2 separate regions of the Homo sapiens genome follow, and region 1 is linked to region 2. Evidence: promoter capture Hi-C in 16 types of primary human blood cells and fetal thymus (Javierre and others, 2016). All regions are on one chromosome and are shown on one strand. Each heading gives the region's core, a stretch centred on a gene start or on the middle of the fragment in contact. The rest is flanking DNA. Distances are from core to core; before and after follow the strand shown. Region 1 overlaps LOC105375716 (a long non-coding RNA gene). Region 2 holds the start of MED30 (mediator complex subunit 30).

Region 1 (5,263 bases), core at 2,246-4,745, 130 kb after region 2:
ATTCTCTAGGAAGTAAACTATGAGATGCAGATTAGCATGCTAGGTGTATATTAGTAGATACTCTTTGATGAACACCTGTAGAAGGAAGGTAAAGGAAGTGGGATAAGGAAGAAAGTGAAATTGTGCAGTGATGCAAACACAATAAAGGCCTCAGCGAAACCCGTAGAAATCTCTGAAGCTAAGATGGCCTCTCAGAGTTATCCTGAGTTAGAGTAAAAAGGGGAGCTGGGCTTTTATACTTTTCTCTCAATCAGTGAAGGAGGACTTGGGTGGTATTTCACAGCATCTATCGGTCAATGTCTATTATTTTCTTTGTTTTACTTTTTCTTACATCTTTTTGTACTTAGAAGTACTTTTATTTGTGTTCTAGTAGTTATCTATACACTAGCAGGTGAAAAATGTTCTTCATTCTCCTTTTACTTAGTTGGTGTTTGACTATTTGGTTTCTGAGCTTTAACTTACATACTTTGACTCTCACCTTCCTTTTTCATTTCTCTGCCTTTAAAAAAAGCTTCCTCAGTTATTTCTACTTTGGACAAATTTGTCCTCTAGTAGATTTTCTTGTAAAGGGCACATGTACAGTATCCCTAGATTCTTGCATATCTTAAAAATGTGTTTATATAACCTTGACACTTGAAGGACAGCTTAGCTGGATATGAAATCCTTGGCTCGCACTTTCTTTGAGTTTTTTGAAAAGGTTTCTCCACTGTTATCTGTCTTTGCATGTTGCAGTAGGGAAATCTTATGCCAATTTGATTTCCTTTATAAATAATGTGGGGCTTTTTTTGTTGTTTTGCTTTGCAGACCATGAGGACAATTTTCACTACATATTATACACCATAGGTCCTTTTAATTTATGCAAATAGGTCTTTTATTTCTGAAAAAAAAATTGGATTGTGATCTAAAATGTTGTTCTATTGTGTTGTTTTTTTGTTTTTGGTCCCCCAGAGACTCCAATTATATGTATATTGCATCTGCTTTGCCTATGCCAAATACTTTCCCTTGATCCTTTTAAATTATTTCCTTTTTGTTATTTTTATTCTCTGCCCTGTTTTTATTTTCTTGACTATTCAATTGTCCCTACTAAATTTCAATCCAATGTTTTCTCATTCAGGCAATTTGTAATGTCTTCACTTCTAGGATGAATTTGATTTTTTCTACTATTTCTTTCCTGTGTTCAGTCATTTTACATCTTCCTAATTTTTGTTCATATTTGCTATGAGTTTTACCTTTCTGATTTGAGATACTTATTTTACATATACAAATTCTTGTTTTCAGATATTTAATTCAGATGGAGCTCTTATGTTGCAGTTTTGTTCTACTTCATGGTTGACATTTTGGGGAGTATTTTTAACAGCTGGTACATTTTAATTCTTAATTTGTTTCTTTTTTGTCTAACTTTGTATGGATATTATCTACTTTTCATACTTATTTTGAATGTCTAATTTTCTGGACCAGCAATAGCAGTTGTATGCACACAAAAGTGAAAGTTTTGACAGGCTTATCAAGCTCCCTAGTTCAAGACTACCCTCTTCATTTAGTACGGTGAAGTGCAGCTTCTCTAATTAATTTAGCTATTTTTGTGTGTGGAAAATTTTTGTGTATTCCGTTTTGTGATTCCCTCTCACTTTCTCTCTCTCTTAGTTCAAGACTACCCTCTTCCTTTAGTGTGGTGAAGTGTAGTTTCTCTAATTAATTTAGCTATTTTTGTGTGTGGAAAATTTTTGTGTATTCTGTTTTGTGATTCTCTCTCACTTTCTGTCTCTCTCTCTCTCTCACACACACACACCCACACACACACACACACACACGTGCACACACACCAGAAATCTCAATTTCTTGTTTTTATATATATTTTTTTACCTTCACTACCAAGTAAGTGCCCATGGGGCATGTTTCCTTCTCAAGTTGCCCCATTCCCATGCAGAAGTTTTAGTTTCCAATGTTGCTGCTTTGGGTCCTGATTACATGCAAATCCTTTCATTTCTCTCCTTTCTTTCTTGTTTTCCTTTCTTTCTAGCCAGTACTCAGATCTACCAGATTCTACATTTGTTCTTGGTATTTTCCACTGCATGGTGGGGATTTAGCTTTTGGAGGGAATTCTATTTGGATTCTGTTACCCTATTTCTCCTGTGGCCCCTGCTCCTCTTTCCTCCTTCTTTTGGCCTCTTTCATATCTCTGCCTTACTCTTCCCCTAAACTGGATTTTTAAAAAATTTCCCTACTTGCCAGTGTTTTAAGCTCACATTATTGTATTTTCTGTTTCCTGCAGAAAGCATAGATTATGGGTCGTTTTATTTGCTGATTTTATTTATCCAGGTGGGTTTTGGGTGAATATTTAGAAAGAATTAGAGTTAAGAGGCAGCCATTATTCTATGTAAATCTAGAAAAACCAGATGATTAGGTTTTAAGCAGAAGACTGTCAGAAGTAAGATTTAGAAAAATAAAGCTGTGACAGAGCTCAGAAATGTGTTTGACTACTCACTTTCACTCCTCAGGTAAAGAAAGAAAAGGGTGAGATGCTTTCTGCCTTGTTCAGGTGCAAGCAATCCTCCAGGGCACCCAATCTTACTCACCACATCCATCCTAACCACACCCTGGCTCACAGAGGGTGAGGCAGAGAATGAATCATTGGGAGGGTTTTCGTGACTAACAGTCCTTCCACTGTCCTCGGGCCTGGCTATGCAGATTCTCACCTGTACACTTTTCTTCTTCCTGGGGTAATATTGCCCCCAGTTTCTCAGGTCTTTTCAATAGCTATTTTTTACTCACTTTAAGAATTTCTTTAAATATCAGCTATTTCAGGAAGCCTTCTGATGACCTACTGCAAACTGGATGGTGAATATTCTCTTTGTGCAACTACAGGAAACCATATACCTCCCTATCCCTGCACTTGACATGTTATTCTGCTTGTGAAAATGCCTCCACCTATAAAATGTGGATACTTCATGATTCCTTTTTCCTTTATGCATTTCAGTAGCGTCTCTCACAGAGCGTGATATTTAACAAATACTCACTGGTAGAATGAATAGATGAACAAAGAAAGCAACATAACTGCTCTAGAAATGCCTGCACTTTGCATTGTCCCAGCCTATGGGGAAAACGTCTTCCTGACTCTTTTGCTTTGTTATGGTTAGAGGGTCACTGGTTTCTACAGACAATTTTCTATGCTTATGTCCCTGATTCCAGGGCCACTTGGACATGAATTTTAACCAGACTTCCCCCCGGGGCCTGGAAGCATGGAGCATTTTGCTGAGTGTGCTTTTGGGTGATCTCCTTTCTATTCTTGTCTCCAGCCATGTTCCACTGGGGACACAAAAATGAATATATTATCTCAATATGTAGCTAAATAGGAAGACTGAATCCATCTCCAAAGTCACAATATTCTCTTCAGGTACAGGCAGAATAAATTTAGTTATTCTAAATCATGTTGAGGGGCAATAAATGTTCTTCTCTATTAAATTTCCTCTGCATTTCTTTCCTCCCCTCACCTGATCTTTAATTGTATTCCAGAAGAGGGTTTCATAATGAAGGACGACCTGCTTTCATCCAAGATCATTATAATTCTTGCAATTCCAAAGTCTGTTTCTCCCCTCTTCTCTGTAGAACTGAAACTATAAAAGTCTTAAAAGCATGGAACTTAGGACTTGAAGGGACCTCATTATCATCTAACCTTCTCATTTGACAGACAAGCACTGACTTGCCCATAATTATAAAGCTGGTTAATGGAAGAATAAGTAATAAAATAAGTTTCTTACTCACAGTTTTGTGTTCCTTTTGTTTCTGTGTGTCTCTGTATGTATATCTTCTCTCGTCCAAGCCTCCAGGATAGTGACCCCTCCCTTAAATCCCCTAACATATTCTTCTTGTGTAAATGGTTCCAAGCAGCAGTTTGAAAATAATGTTACTACACCATAGAGCCTTGAGATTAATGATATAAGCATCTCCTTGTCATAATGCTTCACAAATTTTAGAGACATTCCTTTTCCTCTCTTTTATTTTTGTCATGAAAAAAGAAATAAAATTTCTCTTAAAAATAAAAAAAATCCAGAATCCTTTCAAGTTTTTTCAGGAGTTTAAACCATTCTTCATCAGTTGCAATTTTCTCTTCTATATTTTCCATTAAGGAAGGCAGAGTTAATAACAAATTTGGAGTCCTGTTAGAGAATTTGCAGTCTCAATTTACTGCCTTCTAGTCCTTTTTATCTTGGCCTTCTCATAAAAGGGAAACTGTTTTCTTTGAACAAAGGGATCAGTAATTCACAATCTTGGTTTTGCCACACCCCAGGGTGTCTTCAACCATAAAATAGTGTCAAGAGATTGTCAAAACAAAATTAATTGAAATTGAAACAATAAATTCCTGCCATAAAATGTCTTCAGAAGGTGAAAGGAAAGGTGTATCATAGAATAAAGCAAAAGGTGAGTTCCCCAAAGGATGAGAATTGTTGATCCAAAGGGAAGATGGAAAATCTTTTACTCTTATCTCACCTGTGTTTTTAAAACCTTGCAGGACATAGAAGGAGGAAAAACTAGAATTGTCAAAACAATAAGCCACATCTTCTTACAAGTCAGGGCCCTCCACAGCGTTTCTGACAGTTTGAACACCAGCTAAAGTTTTTTTAACACTAAATTTAGCATGCACAGGCATTTCAGATCTGTCACTAGAAGCAGGGTGATGTCAGTGAGAAAATCTGGTGTTGTTTCATTTTCACAAGTTTTTCAGGATCTGAAATGGAGTGTTTGTTGAGCATGTCACTGCAAGAGGGGGTAATCATTAGTGATCTGAGAAACAAGGCTTGTTGCGAGGTTAAGAACCTAAAAAATGCTTATTAACAAGGAGAAGGGCTGTCAAAGGGAGGAAGGCAGTGAGACAAACGTAGTATTTATCACTCCTGGGGGCTCCAATTTATTTAGATGCTTTGGAATTCTACTCTTTGGGCCATGTATGTGGTAAGACTAAAGTCACATTCACACTTCAGGGGAATGCTGTTGTAGTCATTCTTAAGAAATGTGTCATGACATGGGGCATCTTTTTATCCTAAACCATTTGTGCTTTGCCTTTCAGACTAAAGTGGCTTCTGAACGTTAGAATTTTAATTAGAAGTTGAATGAAAACCTTTTACCAATGAAGATGATCTTGAAAAACATAAGGCAATAATGAGGTTTTTAGGAAGCAAACCATTTATTATTCTGTGCCCATTTGACTCTCTGCTTCATGTTGAGGGGCAATAAATGTTCTTCTCTATTAAATTTCCTCTGCATG
Region 2 (5,330 bases), core at 83-2,582:
AATGTTTACATTCCCACTAGCAATAATCGGGACGTAAAATGGCTCAGGCCACTTTGGAAAAGTTTCTTAAAGTATTAAACAGACATGTACTGCATGATCCAGCAATTCCACTCCTGAATCTGTCCAAGAGAAATGACACATACGTTCACACAAAAATTTGTCAGCAAAAGTTCATAGCAGCATTATTTACAACAGCCAAAAAGTGGAAACAACCCAAATGTCCATCAACAGAAGAAAAGGTAGGCAAATGGTGATACATGGATACAATGGAACATTACTCAGCAATAAAAAGGAAATTATTGATGCATTCTTAGTGAAGGATCTCAGACAAAAAAAAAAGCCCACATACTGTAGACTCCGTTTATATAAAACCCTAGCAAATGCAAATTAATTTATGATTACAGAACGCAGATCAATGGTTGCTTAGCGATGGAAGGTGGGAAGCAAAGATGTCAGAGGGGTATGAAGAAACTTTCTGGGATGATGTGTACACTATTTTGATTGTGGTGATAATTTCACAAGTATACAGACTACAGTACACATATATATCAAAACTTTAGGTGAGTGTAGTTTACTGTATATTAACTATGCCAAAAAAAGGAGGACTGTTTTTTTAAAAAAAATGTAAATTCTTCAACTCCTTGGACCTCCCCAGAAGAAATGCTGGAAAAAACATTTAAAGCAACCTAAAGAGGGAAGTGGAGTGCGACCCATCTCTGCCTTGAAAGGTGCAAGAGTTTACAGAGTAACTAAAGAGCTCGATTGAATCTAAAAAAAATTGGCTTCAATTCTGCAGAAATCTGGTCTGGAAAACATCACCTCTACAAATCCGACTTTTGGGGACACTCTTGAGTGTGAATGGGGGAGACCCTACACCTAAGGTTTGCCCAGGGCAGCCCCGATGACATCCACGGGCCCCACGTAAAGAGGAAACCAGAGGCCCTTTCCCTCCCAGCTGCATCCCCCTGGCCTCGCGCGCCCGCCTTCCTACCTGCATGTTCCTCAGGAGCTGGAAGATCTCCATGGTGCGGTACACGATGTCCTGCACTGTCTCCTGCCCGATGCGGCACAGCGACGCCGTGTTGACTTCCCGGGCGGCCTGCTGAGCCTGGGGCCCGGCGAAGGGCCCGGGCGCCATCCCCGACGCGGCCAACGGAGGGGTGGACATGGCGCGGCTGCAGCTTCAGGCCGGAAGGGGCCAGACAGCAGGTGTCAGGGGTCTGCCCGGAATTGGGAGGCTGTGGGGCCTCAGCGTTGGAACCAGCTTGAGAGACCCCCCGCGGCCCGATTTCAAAACAGCGGCCGCGACTTCCGCCCACTGTGACGTAACACGTCAGAAAACGTCATAGACACCGCCCACTCGGCGAACTGTCTCCGAGCGGAGCCGGGCTGGATTGGATTGGACCCCTGGGCGGGAAAGGACGGACGGGTTAAGTAGCCAATCACCAATTGCGCTCCAGCCAGAGGGGCGATGTTCTTGGGGAGCCTGGGGTGAGTTCCCAGAGTTCGTTTCCCAGTCTTGGCTCAGCGTTAGAACCTTCTGTGTTTAGTTCCTTGCGGAGCATTTTCTCTTAACAAGCCTGAGGTTTGTAGTATAACAGCTAAGAGACAGGTTAAAGTACTTGTTGAGTCGCATACAGGTGTAACTGGCAACCTGCGATTCGAATTCAGAAAACAAGATTCCTAAGCTTGTACGCTTCTCTGTGACATGATACGGACTCCCCGATTGCTCTTGGTCCCTGCTCAGATGTTTTATTCTTTGAGTTTTCCCAGTATCTGTAAGCAAAAAAAATGATCAACACACACACTTCTTTCTGACTCTGGCTCTTATTAGTGTCTGATTTTTTTTTCTTTTTCTTTTTGAGATGGAGTCTCGCTCTGTCACCCAGGCTGGAGTGCAGTGGCGCGACCTCGGCTCACTGCAAGCTCCGCCTCCCGGGTTCACACCATTCTCCAGCCTCGGCCTCCCGAGTAGCTGGGACTACAGGCGCCCGCCACCACGCCCGACAAATTTTTTGTATTTTTAGTAGAGACGGGGTTTCACCGTGTTAGCCGGGATGGTCTCGATCTCCTGACCTCGTGATCCGCCCGCCTCGGCCTCCCAAAGTGCTGGGATTACAGGCATAAGCCACCGCGCCCGGCCTACTGTCTGATATTTTATATAGCTTTCAGTTTGTTTACTTTCAGACTTTATCTCACCCTATCTACACACACTGCCAACTCCATGAAAACAGACTATTTTATTCACTTATTCTCAACACCTAGTGATTGGCACAAGTATCAATAAATACTTATTGAATGATTGTTGAGTGACATGATAAATGCAAGAGAAATTAAAATGTCTCTCACAATGTCTCTCACTTACTGTTCATCTCCAAAGTGGGGAAAAGTGAAGAATGTAAAATTAGTGATAGGCACAAACATTGCATTTTTTAGAAGTATCTGAATGCTCCATTGTACGGACTTTCCAGGAAATAGTTACTAAATATGTCATAGGAACCCTGGTAGAGATTTTAAACATAGTAATTCGCAGGTCTTCGGTAATTACCATTCGACAAATATTGGCTGAGCACCTATTATGTGCTGGGTGCTAGGAGTGAAGATAGCGTACTGAACAAACCAGGCAAAAGCCCTGCAGCATGTTTGTCATGGGGACAAACAGAACACTATTGTGATGAGCGTCTTGAAGCAAAAGTTCCTGATATCAGGGTGCTAACAATTTAGGAGATTGAGAACGACCTGAAGGGAGCAGTGTGGAACCTGAAGGTGGATAGGGAAGGGAGTAACGAATGATAGAGTCTTTTCTATGAGGACGAGGAAGGCCAGTGCCAACACCTGAAGTGAAGAGGCCTCCTAATGCTTTCTAGGATCTGGAAGAAGTTCAGTGTGAGGACGAGTGTTAGGAAATAAGGCTGAAGACAGAGGCAACCCTGGAGGATCTTCTAACCCATGTCAAGCAGTTGAGAATTTATGGAGTGAAATAGCAAGCCATTGAAGAGTTTCAAGGTGAGAGGAATAATTTGAAATATTCATTTTAGAACACTTATTCTGGTTGCTAAATGGGGAACAGATGGTGGGTTTCTATTGTCTTCTCTCCCAAAGGGGAATGATGATGATGATCATGACCTGTGCAGAGAAAGGAGACAGAGGGTAACTTTGAATAAATATTTAGTAAGTAGAATCTAGAGAACTTGATAGTAACTGGATCAGGAACATTAAGGAGAGGAAAGAATTAAGGATGGCACGTATTTCTGCTTTCATGTGAAACTTCAGGTGAAGTTTATGTCATTTACCAAGACAGGATACACTGAAGAAAAAATAAGTTTCCGAGAAATTATGCCTTATGTTAATTTCCTATTGCACATGTAACAAATTACCACAAACTTTGTGGCTTAAAACAGCACACCTTTTATTATTTTATAGCTTTTTAGCTCAGAAGTCTGAAATTGTTCTCGCTGAACTACGCTCAAGGTGTTGGCGGGCTGTGTTCCCTTCTGGGGGCTCTCAGAAGGAATCTGTTTCCTTGTCTTTTCCAGATTTTAGAAGGCTGCCGCAATTGCTTGGCTCATGACCACTTCCACCAACTGCAAAAACCAGCTTTCATCCTTTTCAAAGCCAGAATTGGCTAGTTGAATATGCCATATCTCTGGTTCTGAGTCCTCTGCCTCTCTTTCATTTAAGTATCATTTTGATTACATCGGGTCCACCTAGATAATCCAGGATATCTTTTTATTTTAAGGTCAGCTGTTTTGCAGCTTCAGTTCCGTCTGCTACCTTAATCGCCCCTTGCCATGTAACATGACATACAGACTCTGGGAATTAGGATGTGGACATCTTCGGGGAGTAACTAAAATCTGCCTACCACATGCCGCCAATCCAAACTGTCCCTAAATTCAAACTCACATACCTAAAAACCTGACATCTTGACTTGGATGGCTATTTGGCATCTAAAACTTATGTCTAAGAAAACCCAACTCTTGATCCCTCCCAACCTTCTTTACCACACTTTTCCCATGTCATTGTCTGGCACCACCATGCATTTAGTTGCCCATCCTGGCTTCTCTCTTTCCCACCCTACTTCCAAGTCATCAGAAAATAGAATGAACTCTGACTTTCAAATATATCCTATATGTGACCAATTACTTCACCCCTTTCAACCTAGTCCAAGCTGTCTTCTCTTATTTAGAATGCTGGATAACAATCAAGAGTCTCCTAATTGAACTCCCTTCCTGCTACACTTGCCCCATCCAGTCCACACTCATTACAGCACCCACAGGCAAACTTACAAGCTAAGTCAGGTTATGATTCTCCCCTGCTCTCCTGTCCTCTCATCGTGCTTAGAATAAAATCCAAAGCTGCATGACCTGCACACCTCCACATGTGCTGGCCTAGGCTGTTCCTGCTCTCTCAGTTCCCACAGCTCTCCCCTCACTCCAGATACATACACCTCCTTACTATTCCTTGTGCACTCCAAGTTCATCTCACTTCAGACTCATTTATTTTGGCCTGGGAAGCTCTTCTCTCAGCTATCTCTCCAGGCTTTGTTTACAGTGGCCTTTTCTGGCCACCCTACTTAAAATAGCCTGCATCAGGCTGGGTGCTGTGGCTCACACCTGTAACCCCAGCACTTTGGGAGGCCGAGGCGGGTGGATCACGAGGTCAGGAGATCGAGACCATCCTGGCTAACATGGTGAAACCCTGTCTTTACTAAAAAATACAAAAAAATTAGCTGGGCATGGTGGCGGGCGCCTGTAGTCCCAGCTACTCGGGAGGCCGAGGCAGGAGAATGGCGTGAACCTGGGAGGTGGAGCATGCAGTGAGCCGAGATCGCACCACTGCACTCCAGCCTGGGCGACTGAGCAAGACTCTGTCTCAAAAAAAAAAAAAAAGAAAAAAAATAGCCTGCATTAGTCTTCTGTTGCTGCTGGAAAAAAATATCAGAATTTAGTGGCTTAAAGCAGCAGAAATTTATGTCCCCATTTTCTTACTGATTGTAAACTGACAGCCATTCCTAGCTTCTATGAGATGCCACATTCCTTGGCTTGTGGTCCCTTCCTCCATCTTCAAAGCCAGCTATGGCAGGCAAGTCTCTCTCATGCTTTAAATTTCTCCTGCATCTTATTCCATTGTCCTTGTCACATACCTCTAACCTTTCACTTTTGAGGGCCTATGTGATGATACTGGGTTCATCTACGTTATTCTAGATAAACTCCCCACCTCGAGACCCTTAACCTTAACCACGCCTGTAAAATTCCCTGTTTCATGTAATGCAACATAGTCATAGCTTCTAGGGATTAGAGGGTTTGCATCTTTGTGGGGCCATTATTCCA

Evidence for each region. Contacts are between HindIII fragments. The CHiCAGO score rates a contact against its expected background, and 5 or more counts as called.
Region 1: a contact is called between a fragment that was not itself captured here and the fragment with the promoter of MED30 in region 2, in 2 of 17 cell types (naive B cells and total B cells). The highest score is 5.7, in naive B cells.

What each region holds. Positions count from the first base shown.
Region 1 is chr8:117,385,970-117,391,232 of GRCh38, reverse strand. All of the region lies in intron 4 of LOC105375716 (a long non-coding RNA gene), which reads left to right. Among named protein-coding and RNA genes, the nearest start is that of MED30, 130 kb to the left of the region's middle. RefSeq lists an enhancer at 1,955-3,154. The HindIII fragment of the contact is 5,963 bases long and covers 514-5,263 here.
Region 2 is chr8:117,516,715-117,522,044 of GRCh38, reverse strand. MED30 (mediator complex subunit 30) reads right to left here and starts at 1,332. Exons shown (of 4, transcript NM_080651.4): 1 at 992-1,332. The coding sequence starts at 1,168. It overlaps LOC105375716 (a long non-coding RNA gene), which reads left to right and starts at 1,325. Exons shown (of 7, transcript XR_928569.3): 1 at 1,325-1,491; 2 at 2,868-3,006. The HindIII fragment of the contact is 1,953 bases long and covers 1-1,690 here.